2 separate regions of the Homo sapiens genome follow, and region 2 is linked to region 1. The links are contacts of gene promoters, found by promoter capture Hi-C in blood cells and fetal thymus (Javierre and others, 2016). All regions are on one chromosome and are shown on one strand. The core of a region is centred on a gene start or on the middle of the fragment in contact, and the rest is flanking DNA. Distances in the headings are between cores, read along the strand shown. Region 1 holds the start of OCRL (OCRL inositol polyphosphate-5-phosphatase). Region 2 overlaps FIRRE (firre intergenic repeating RNA element).

What was found. Contacts are between HindIII fragments. The CHiCAGO score rates a contact against its expected background, and 5 or more counts as called.
Region 2: a fragment that was not itself captured here is called in contact with the fragment with the promoter of OCRL in region 1 in 1 of 17 cell types (M1 macrophages); the score reaches 5.4 in M1 macrophages.

What each region holds. Positions count from the first base shown.
Region 1 is chrX:129,536,806-129,542,308 of GRCh38, reverse strand. It overlaps OCRL (OCRL inositol polyphosphate-5-phosphatase), which reads right to left and starts at 2,050. Exons shown (of 24, transcript NM_000276.4): 1 at 1,831-2,050; 2 at 1,486-1,565. The coding sequence starts at 1,869. RefSeq lists silencers at 1,837-2,036, 2,147-2,206 and an enhancer at 1,923-2,217. The HindIII fragment of the contact is 8,325 bases long and covers 1,186-5,503 here.
Region 2 is chrX:131,788,145-131,793,935 of GRCh38, reverse strand. All of the region lies in intron 3 of FIRRE (firre intergenic repeating RNA element), which reads left to right. Among named protein-coding and RNA genes, the nearest start is that of FIRRE, 40 kb to the left of the region's middle. RefSeq lists enhancers at 561-855, 1,248-1,617. The HindIII fragment of the contact is 2,722 bases long and covers 2,696-5,417 here.

The DNA.
Region 1 (5,503 bases), core at 801-3,300:
TAGCAGCCCCATACCCCCACATATACCCCCAACTATACCCCCATAACTTACACAGAATTGGAACACACGACTTCCTTATTAGCTCAACAGAGTTCCAAATCTACTAATCCGAGGGACTAGATTCTGGGCTGTGGTCATCTCAACAATGTAGCTACTCTATTCAATCTTCATGATTTTGTTTTTACATTAGAGGAAACCAAGGCACACAAGTTTTACTGGTTTGCCCAAGGGTCACCTCTCTGTAACCCACTCTAGCCTTTGGAAATGTTAGTGGTGTTCCACTTTTCTGCTGAATTTTGTTTTATTAAATTCTGAATTTAGTTTAGTTTCATTAAACTAGTCTTCCAGGGTTTGATGAAATCCGGGTTTGATGAACTTCCCAGTAGAGCTGACTAAGCAGGACCTATGAAAGAGCTACTTCACAGAATTAGCTGACATCCAGTTAGAGTGGCACCAATAGTCTCAGAGAAGAGCAGGTTGGGCCAGTGGGAATTTCTTCCGTGTAAATCTGACAGCATAGATACAGAGGATCTAAAAGTGGGGACTGAGAAAATTGGTTTTAGGCAGAAGCCAATGTTGGGAGATGGCAAGATTTAAGTGAACAATTTTTAAACTGGGAAGGAATATGATGTCAAGAAGCCAATGAATATCCAAGTGAGGTGTCTTGGGCACACAGGGATAGGGGCCTATGATACGTAATGGTCACCATGGATATTTTTGAGATAAGATATTAGTGACAATAGAGTGAGGTTAGCAGCTATGGTGATAGCTTATCAAAATAATCTTTTGATCAATCAGTCAACAGTATTTACGGAGCTCCTATGGCAGAGAGGAAGGTGACACACTGATAAAATACTGTCATTTCTATCTCTACACATTTCATTACCTTTTCTTTCTAACAGTAAAGTCAGTAAGTGAGGCAGTTTCTGGCCTACACTAAACCATTACTGAATTAATGAATATGCCTTCAACCCAGTGGGATAAGGGGACGGGGAGACTGGAGAAACCAGCTGAATAGGGTTAAGACAAGTCTGTAACGTTAACAATGAAGCATTTCCATAGCACTTTTACTTTTTGGAAGCCACTCTCGCATTTATTTTTCCCCCAGTTATAATTCCAAAGGCTGTAAGGTAAGGCAGTTAATGGTTTTATTAAACTGAAGAGTTAACTTTGGCCCAGAAAGCTTTATTGACTTGCCCAACGTTACACAACACATGTCAGTTGCAGGGGCAGGAACTAAGAACCCAGGCTTCCTGCTTCCCCGCCCATTCAGTCCTTCCACTGAGCCACACTGCCAAGCACAATCCAGAGGCTTGGAAGTTGGGGACAAAGCCCCGAGGTTAGAGAGCACTGGCACTTCACACCTGGACCTGAACCTGTTGCCCGCGTGGCTTCAGTAGGAGGACAGTGGGTGACCCGTCGCGGTTTGGGGTTGGGAGGTAATGGCAGGCTCCCCTCCTCTGTGGGAATCAGGTGGTTACTTACTCATATTGCCCGTTCCTCTGGGCTAGGGTCAGGGCGCAGGGCTCCCGGAGAGGACCCTTCATCTCCATACCCTCGACAGTATGCGGGCGCTAGTCAAGGGTCTCCTTCGGAAGCGCGGTGGGGAGGAGTGGTGCACTGCGGGGCGAAGGGGGTCTTCCACCCCCCCCCCACCGCCGCCCTCCCCCGCCCCGCCCCGCCCTGCTTCGTCTCCCGCGCCGGCCCCCTCCCCCTCTCTGCTCGGCCTCTGGGCCACCCGGTTGCCCCGCCCCACCGTGTTCCGCAGGGCCCCCGACCCCCACCCCCGGCCCTGCGCGGCCTCCCCTCTCCCTTCTCTCCGGCGGATACGGCAAGCGGCTGGGCTCCGACCGGGAGCGGCGGCTCCATCCAGGCGGCCTCCGGGCTCAGCAGGACAGCGGACTGCGGGCCGATCCGACGACACTGGCTCCCGCGTCCCCACACCCACCCACCTCGGCTGCGTGTCGTTTGAGGAACAGCTCCGCGCCGGGCGCCGGGCGCCGGGAGCCGGGAGCGGGGAGCTGGGAGCTGAGAATCTGACCCAAGAGAGAGCGGCGCCTCGCGCCCCCGCCAGTTTTCCAGGCCGCCGCAGATTCCGTCCCCTGCGGTCAAACTGCGGAACTGCAGCGAGAGACCTGACGGACTGGGGGCGTCTCTACCAGGTCCAGCAAGGAATGGGTTTTAAATGCCACCTGTGACATCAAAATTGTTCTGAGGACTTTGAAGGCCACAGAAACAAAACACAGTCATACCTATGGGAGATCTCAAACCTGTTGTGTCAATACGACCCACATCATTCAGTAAAAAAATACATATATATATATATATATATTTCTTAAGGTTATAATGTCCCGTGTTGGTTATCCTACCATTTCCTTTCCTCTTCTTTCTTCCACGCCCTAAATCGGAGAATTCCCCAAAGCCCAGACCTTTGCTCCTCCTCTGCGTCCCCTCCAGTTCACCTCTAACTAGACAATGTCCAAATATATATCCCTGGCCCAGACCTCTTACCTAATAGAGTCCATTGTTAACACATCACTGCGTCACAAAACTAACTCATTATCATTTCACTGGAAAGCCATATATCGTCTTCCCCCTCCTCATCTCTATATCCAATCAGTCAACACACCCTGTTAATATTTTACGTGGAATTACTTTTAGATTCCTTATTTTCTCTCCATTCACACTGCCATAACTTTATTGTAAGCCCTTGTGATAGCCTATCTGGGTTATTGCACTTTTCTTTAAATAAATCCTGTTGGGTTTACTCTTTCCTTTGACATGTTTACTCTGTTGACAGCCATAAAAATATTTTTCCCAAAGTAATTTTTCGATCGTGTTATTCATTTGCTCCAGAATCTATAATACACTAGATATCAAGAGTGACTGTAAATCTGTAGTAATTAAAAGTATGCTGTGGAGATAGACAATCAATGAAACACAATATAAACCCCTCAAACAGACCACACATATACGGAAGGTTGATATGCAGCGTGTGGGACATTTCAAATCAGTGGGGAAAGAATGGATTATCCACTAAGTGGTACTAGGACTACTGCTTATCCATATGGAAAATTATAAAAATTAGACCCCTACCTCAAACCATGGAAGAAAAATCAGTTCCAGGTGGATTAAAGATCTAAATGTGAAAAGCAAAACTTTATAACTTTCAGAAAAAAAAATTGAGTATGAGCTTGGAATATGGAATGAGAATAAGACATTTAGCTACATGAAATTTCAAAATGTATGTACTTTAAGACAATATAAACAAGTTAAAAGACAAACTGGCCTGCACAGTGGCTCATGCCTGTAATCCCAGCACTTTGGGAGGCCGAGGTGGTAGGATCACTTGAGCCCAGGAGTTCAAGACCAGCCTGGGAAACGTGGCAAAACCCTGTCTCTACAAAAACTATAAAAATTAGCTGGATGTGGTGGCAAGTGCTTGCAGTCCCAGCTACTCAGGAGGCTGAGGTGGGAGCATCCCCTTGAGCCAGCGAGGTCACATCTACAGTGAGCTGTGATGGCGCCACTGCACTCCAGCCTGGGTGACAGAGCAAGACCTTGTCTCAAAAAAAAAAAAAAAAAAAAAAGACAAGCTGTCATCACCTTTCGGACATCTCCCACCATTTCCCACCACTCTCCCTAACTAGCTTTGCTTAGTCACACTGACTCCTTGTTGTTGCTAGGACTTGCCAGGCACACTCTTACCTCAGGGCCTTTACACTTGCTGTTCACTCTGCATGCACTCTCACCTCCTTCAGGTCTTTGCTCAAATGTCACTTTCTCACTGAAGCCTTCCTAGACCACTTTATTGAAAATTGTAATTCAACAATCCCCTTCTCCATCACCACACATACATGTTCCCTATCCCTCTTCCCTGCTTATGTATCACTATCTACCACTTCTGTTTTATTTATCAATATTATTGGTCATTTACCTTCACCCGCTAGAATGTTGAGTTCCATGAGTGCAAGGATTTTGTCTGTTTTGATCATAGCTGCATTCTCAGTGCCTAGAACCATTCTTGGAGCCAAGTAGGTGCTAGAAAAATATTGATTAAATGAATGAATGACTTGGTATCCAGGATATATAAGAACTCCTATAAATAAGAAAGAAACCTAATAGAAAAATTGACAAAATATCTGAGTAAGTAATTCATAGTCAAGGAAACCCAGATGGCCAATAAAGACATGAAAAGATGCCTAACTTTATTACTATTCAGGGAAATTGAAAAGTAAAACCACGAGATACCATTTCACAACCATCGGTTTTGTGAAAATTTAAAAAGTCAGACAACCCCAAGTGTTGTTGAAGTTCTAGCAGTGGAACTCTGATTTACGGCTAGAAGGAGTTTAAGTTGGTAGAACTGCTATGAAGAACAATTTGACGATGTCTAATAAAGGCAATACCCCTCAATCTAGAAATTCTATTTCTAGATATAGACACTGGCAAAACTCTACCTTTTATATGCACAAAGAGACATATAAAAGAATGTTCATTGCAGTATTATTTGTAATCTCAAAAATGGAAGCCAAGTAAATGTCAGCAGGTGAATGAATAAATAATGGTGTTCTCGATGAATGAATTTGAGCTATGGGTAGTAACAGCTAAATTTCAAAAATATAATGTTGAGTGAAAAGCAAATTGCAAAACATGTACAGTATACTGTGTATATAAAGTCTGAAAATATCATCTATTGCTTATGGCTACATAGATGAGTAGTACTGTAATAGTATATAAAACATGAAAGGGCATGATCACCAAATTTAAGAGAGGGAGAGGATTGACACTCGGGGGAGGCATACAGAGAATATCAAATATATCTAATATTTATTTCTCAAAACAGAATCTGAAAAGTGATGTTGCAAGATTTGATAGAACTGGGTGGTGGGTACATATATTGGTTCTGTTATTCCATGTACTTTCCTGCACTGAAAATCATTTGCAGTCAATGAAAACGAAAGATAAAGAAGGAATATGCAGGGGAGGTTAGCAGTATCAAATGCTGAAAATAGGACAAGAAAATGAGGGCCAAAGAGACTTTCTTTGGACGTGTCAAGGAGTTCACTGGAGACCAATAATTGTTTGGTTTCAATAAGTGGTGAGGATAGAAACAAGATTATGGGGAATTGAGGAGGAACTGTATTGTGAGAAAACGGAGACAAGAGACCACAGATTGAAGAGGTTTGGAAATAAAAAGGAACGAAGTACAATTTTAATTAAATTAGTTAGAAGGGTCAAACAGAGGTTGTTGACAAAGCCTGAAGCCACTTTAAAGCAAAGAGGAAGGAACCAACAAAGAGGGGGCCTTTTTTTTTTTTTTTTTTTTGAGACGGAGTCTCGCTCTGTCGCCCAGGTCGGACTGCGGACTGCAGTAGCGCAATCTCGGCTCACTGCAAGCTCCACTTCCTGGGTTCACGCCATTCTCCTGCCTCAGCCTCCCGAGTAGCTGGGACTACAGGCGCCCGCCACCGCGCCCGGCTAATTTTTTGTATTTTTAGTA
Region 2 (5,791 bases), core at 2,807-5,306, 2.2 Mb before region 1:
TGTTGGCCGGGCTGGTCTCAAACTCCTGATCTCAAGTGATCCACCGGCCTCGGCCTCCCAAAGTGTTGGGATTACAGGCGTGAGCCACTGCATCTGCCCCAAAACTGTGTAACTTCTAATGGGAGTTTATACAGATGTAAGTATATGTATCATGCCCTGTGGAACAATGTATTACATACAATGATGTGCGCTGTCTTGGCCTTCTCTTCCTACTTCTACCAAACACTTTCTGACAATTCATCACATAAACTGAGAAAATGGAGGAGGACTCCCTGGTTGTCTGGGGAGGGGAATAGGTCAAAGATCACCTAGACTTGTGAATTGGTGGCTCATGATGATCTCCAGGCTTCTGACCATTTATTATCGCTTTTCTTCTCTGATCGGTCTAATTTCCGGCCTGAGACAGACATTTTGATACCATGTGAAAGTACTGAGCCAACCCACATAGACTAAGTCTGGAAAACATTTAATTTCTTGAAAGAACAAGATTCCTGATGAGGATGGGTCGTTTAGGCTTTGACTTGATTTCACATGGAAAAGAAAAGCAAAAGTACAGGAATTTGCACAGGTTGCCCCAAACTGTGCAAAATGCAAGGCAGCCATGTCTCCTGGCGCATTTGTCTCTGGGTGGCGTTTTTTCAGACAGGAAGGGCGGGAGAAGACTGCTCCAAGACAGGGCGTCCTTGAAAATCTGAAGCACTACTGCCACCGTGAGGAAATCGTTTAAAGACAGAATAGGCTATTACAGCGTCCTTCCCGGGAAGCCTCGCTGTGGGGGAAAGTCTGGTCTGTGAGGAGGTGGAAGAGGATTGGGCTCCAGACTAGGTCTTGTTGCCTTCTCCTCTAAGGCCTGAAGAGAGAACTGGAATTTGGCGGTATCTTGGTGTAGAACCTGGAGATTGAGGGGCTTGGAGTGAAGCAGCAGCTGCCAGGAGGTCCTGGTACAGGAAGTCGTGGGTCGGGGCCTCAGTTCCTCCTGGTGTGGGCAGGACAGCAGAAACCCTCTCAAAGACACATGTAGGCTCTTATGGGCATCTCTTTGCTGTTCCTGCCCCTTGGAGCAAGAGTCAGAAGTTTTCCACGAGCTGTCATCTTGCTATGGATCTTTGGGTCTCTGGTAGCATGAGTGTTGCGCACAATTAACAGGGTTATTCCAAGGGAAGTTTACAGGATTTGCTATTAGAACCTTCACACTCCAGGTTCTATAGCAAGATACCGCCAATGTCCAGGTCTTTTTTAAAGCCTTAGAGGAGTAGGCGAGGCCTCCCAGCATAGAGGCCAAGCCTCTTCCACCTCTTACCAGACCAGACCTGTCCCAACAGGTAGCCCACACTAGAACTCTGTAATGGCGTAGGGTTTCGTTAAACGACATCCTCACGATGGCAGTAGTGCTCCAAATATGCTAAGTAGTCTGGTCTTGGCGCCCTCTACTCCCGCCCTTCCTGTATGAAAAAACGCCACGCATCCACAAAGGCGCCACCAAACATGGCTGCCTTGCATTTAGCCCAGTTTGGGGCCAGCTGGTCTTACCGCTGCACTTTTGCTTTTGTTTTCCACTTGAAATCAAACAAGGCCCGCCTTCATTAAGAATCTTGTGCTTTCAGAAATTAAATATCCTCCTGTCCAAGACTTTGAGGGTGCGATTTATTTCACAGAGTTAAGGGGCCAGTACACTTCATGGTATAAAATTATCTTTTTCAGGGGATGAAGGCACAAGGAGAAAATTACTTGAAACTTGGAGATCTTCTCTGGCAAGCAATTTACAAATTCTGGTGTTCTTTGATCTGGCTCCCCGCCCAGACAACCAGGGAGTTCTTCATGTTCTAGCCTCATGTGTTGCACTATAGGCAGTAATTTGGCATCAGCCATAGAGGAGGGATCCGATAGTTGTCATTGCTGCCCGCCACATATACTCCACATGGAATGATACTCATAATGCATATGTTCAATTCCTGTCGAGGTTACACAGAGTTATATCTCATGGTCGCATCATTTAACACCAAAATAACAACATTCCCATGTGTTACATATACTTCAAGTATTTCCTGAGACTTTACACGGTGCCTACGTGGGGAATGGATGGGTGCGTTATGTTTCTCCCTTGGAGCAAGAGTTAGCAGGCTTTCAGGCAGTGTCACTCTGCTGTGAGGCATGAGTCATTTGTTGCAGCAATGTGAGAACACCAAGGACAGACCAATTCCAGGTGGGATGTAGCAGGAGCAAGTAAGTTTTCTGAGGGTCTCAAGGGCACCCAATTGTCTGAAGACTAGAAGGGCATAAAGAGAAATTGAACCACTGAGCTAATCAAGGAAGAGTTACATCTTCTTCTAGTGGACTGTTGTACATAAACACATAAACCAAAAACAGTGAAAGGGACTGAAAATCAATCTACATTTTAATAGTATTTGTTGGAGATGGCATTACCCGTGATCTCACTTCACGTTATCATGTATGACTATTGTGGCAGGTATGTTTTCAAGAAGCATGATTGTTTCTACGAATTCAAAAACAGGTGGCGAAAGTGACATCAATGAAAAGTATGCATTAGGGAACTTCTGTAGTCCCTCTCTCTGGAAAGGCAACTCAAAACAATCAAGAATCTATCATTAGAAGATCATTTTCTCAACACGATATATGGGGCATTTATAAAAAATCTACAGGTAGTATTATACTCAAGAGTGAAAGACTGAAAGCTTTCCTCCCAAGATCATGAACAAGGCAAGAATGCACACTTTTGCCCTTTTCTTGTACACTTAAAATTCTAGTCAGGGTCATCAGACAATGAAGATATATAAAAGGCATCCAAGTTGAAAAGAAAAAAAAGAAAAAAAAAATGGAAATTATCTCTCTTCATAAAGATGATGATATTATAAAAATGCTTTAAACTGCAGAAAAACCATATTAGAGCTAATGAACAATATTCAGCAAGCCCCACAGGATAGAACATTAAATCGTAAAAATCAGTTATAGTTGTGTACACTAGCAATGAACAATCTGAAAATTGAATTAAGAAAGCAATTCCATTTATAATAGCATCAAAATAAATCATATTTTAAGGAGAATATTTCACTAAACAGATGAAAGACTTGTACATTGAAAAATCACAAAATATTGGAGAAGAACTTAAAGATTACCTGGATTTTTAAAAAGGACATCCTGTGGGTAATGAGTTAGAAGACTAAATATTTATAATATGGCAATACTAGCCATAGAGATCTACAGATTTAATGTAATCCTAATTATTATTCCCATGAGCATTTATTTTTGGGAAAAAGAAAGAGCAAATTCTAAAGATCCTATTAAATTGCAAGAGATCTGAGTAACCAAACTTTGAGTAAGAAAAACCAAGGTGGAAGACACACTTCTAGATTTCAAAATTTACTAGAAAATCTAGAGTAATCAAAGCAGGCTGATGATCAAATAAGAATACACACAGTGATTAATGGAAGAGATGAAGAGTCTGAAAATAAACCCAGACATTGTGGTCAATTGACTTTTCACAAAGTTATCAAGTTCATTTAATGAGACGTGAATAGACTCCTTAAGAAATAGTGCTTAGACAACTGGTTATCCACATGCAAAAGGATGAAGTTAGACCTCTACCTCACATCATGTGCAAAAATTAACTTGAAATGTATCAAATGTCTAAAGGTAAGAGCTAAAGCTATAAAACCTTCAGGGAAACTATAGGAATAAGTCTTCAAAACTTTAGATTTGGCAATGATTTTTTAGCTATACCGCCAAAAGCACCAATAACAAAAGAAAAAATAAATTGGACTTCCCTGGAATTAAAAAATTTTGCATCAAAGTGCACAATTCAGAACTTGAAAAGCCAACTTACGGAGTGGGAGGAAATATTTCCAAATCAATTATCTAAAAACTGCTAATATCCAATACATATAAAGGACTCTTAAAAACAACAAAAGACAACCCAATTTTTAAAAAATAGGCCAAGGGAGAGTGACATCACCAAAATGGTAGAGTGGAAGCAATCTGACTTTACCCCAAAGAAAACTAAAAATAGCTGTCTAGTGCCAAGATTGTCACAAGCAATATTGCAGAACTGAAAATTGAGACTATGACGATCTGTGGGTCCACAAGAAAGTGAATACATATGAGCAGCTGGAAAGATTAATAGACTTCTGTCTCTGTGATTCCCCAACTCAAAGCTGCTAGGCACCATGTAGAAAATTCCCCCTGGACTCACGGTTTCCTCTGTAAAATGTGAGATCCAGGCAGGCAGCTAGCTTCTCTACCATTTTGGTGTCCTTTGCAGGAATGCTGTTCTTGCCTCACTCCCTAGAAAGCATCCTGACTGCCTGTAGGAAGAAAAATCTCTGAGGGCAGCTAGAGACAAAAAGTGGAGTCGAAGCTAGCAACCCCAGTGCATTAAATTTGGGGACTCGTCTTTTGCTGAGACAAAGAAGACCTCAAATCAGAGAGGGCATCAGCAGCAACATGAAAATGAACAGGAATGAAAAAAGAACCGGAAAGGCTATACTCTGGCCCAGCATGGTGGCTCACGCCTGTAATCCTAGCACTTTGGGAGGCCAAGGCAGGCGGATGACCTGAGGTCAGGAGTTCAAGACTAGCCTGGCCAACATGGTGAAACCCTGTCTCTACTAAAAATACAAAAATTAGCTGGGCGTGGTGGCACACGCCTGTAATCCCAGCTACTTGGGAGGCTGAGGCAGGAGAATCCCTTGAATCCAGGAGGCAGAGATTGCAGTGAGCCGAGATCATGCCATTGCACTCCAGCCTGAGCCACAGAGCGAGACTCCATCTCAAAAAAAAAAAAAGAAAGAAAGAGAGAGAAAGAAAGAAAGAGAGAGAGAGAGAGAGAGAGAAAGGTCATACTTAGATACAATAGATTAAAAGTCAAAAACTGTAAAGAGAGGCAAAGAAGGTCACTGTATAACAATGAAAATGCCAATACAGCAAGAGGATATAACAATTGTATATATGTATGTACCCAACACTGGAACACAGAAATATATAAGGCAAACATTTGAAGATCTAAACAGAGTGATAGAATGGCGTACAACAACACTGGGAGACTTCAGTACTCCACTTTCAGTAATGGACAGCTTAATTAGACAAAGAAACATTGAAATTAAACTGTTCTCTAGACCAAATGAACTTAACTGACCTTTACAAAATATTTCATCCAATTGCTATAGAATATACATTCTTGTCATCAGCATATGGAACATTCTCCAGTATAGAGCATATGTTAGGCCACAGAACAAGGCTAAACAAATTTAAGAAAAGACCCGAAAATATGAAATTACTAGAATAAGAGCCTGGGGAAATGCTTTAAGACATTGTTCTGGGGAAAGATTTTTTGTATAAGATCTGAAAAGCACTGGCAATCAAAGCGAAAATAGACAAATGAGAGTAAATCAAGCTAGAAAGCTTCTGCACAGCAAAGAAAACAACAAAGTGAGGAGACAACCTACAGAAAGAGAGAATATCTTAGCAAACTATTGATCTAACAATGGAATAACAAATCACAATGTAAAACAAACTCAGCTCAATAACCAAAAACCAAATTATCTGATTTACAAATGGGCAAATGATCTGAATAGGCATTTCTGAAACAAAGACACAAATGGCCAACAGATATATGAAAATACGTTAAACATCACTAACCGTCAGGGAAACGCAAATCAAAACCATGTGAGATACCATATTACCCCAGTTCAAATGGCTCTTACTAAAAAGACAGAGAATAACAGTTGCTGGCTAGGAAGCAAAGAGGAATGCTTGTATACTGTTGCTGTAAATGTAT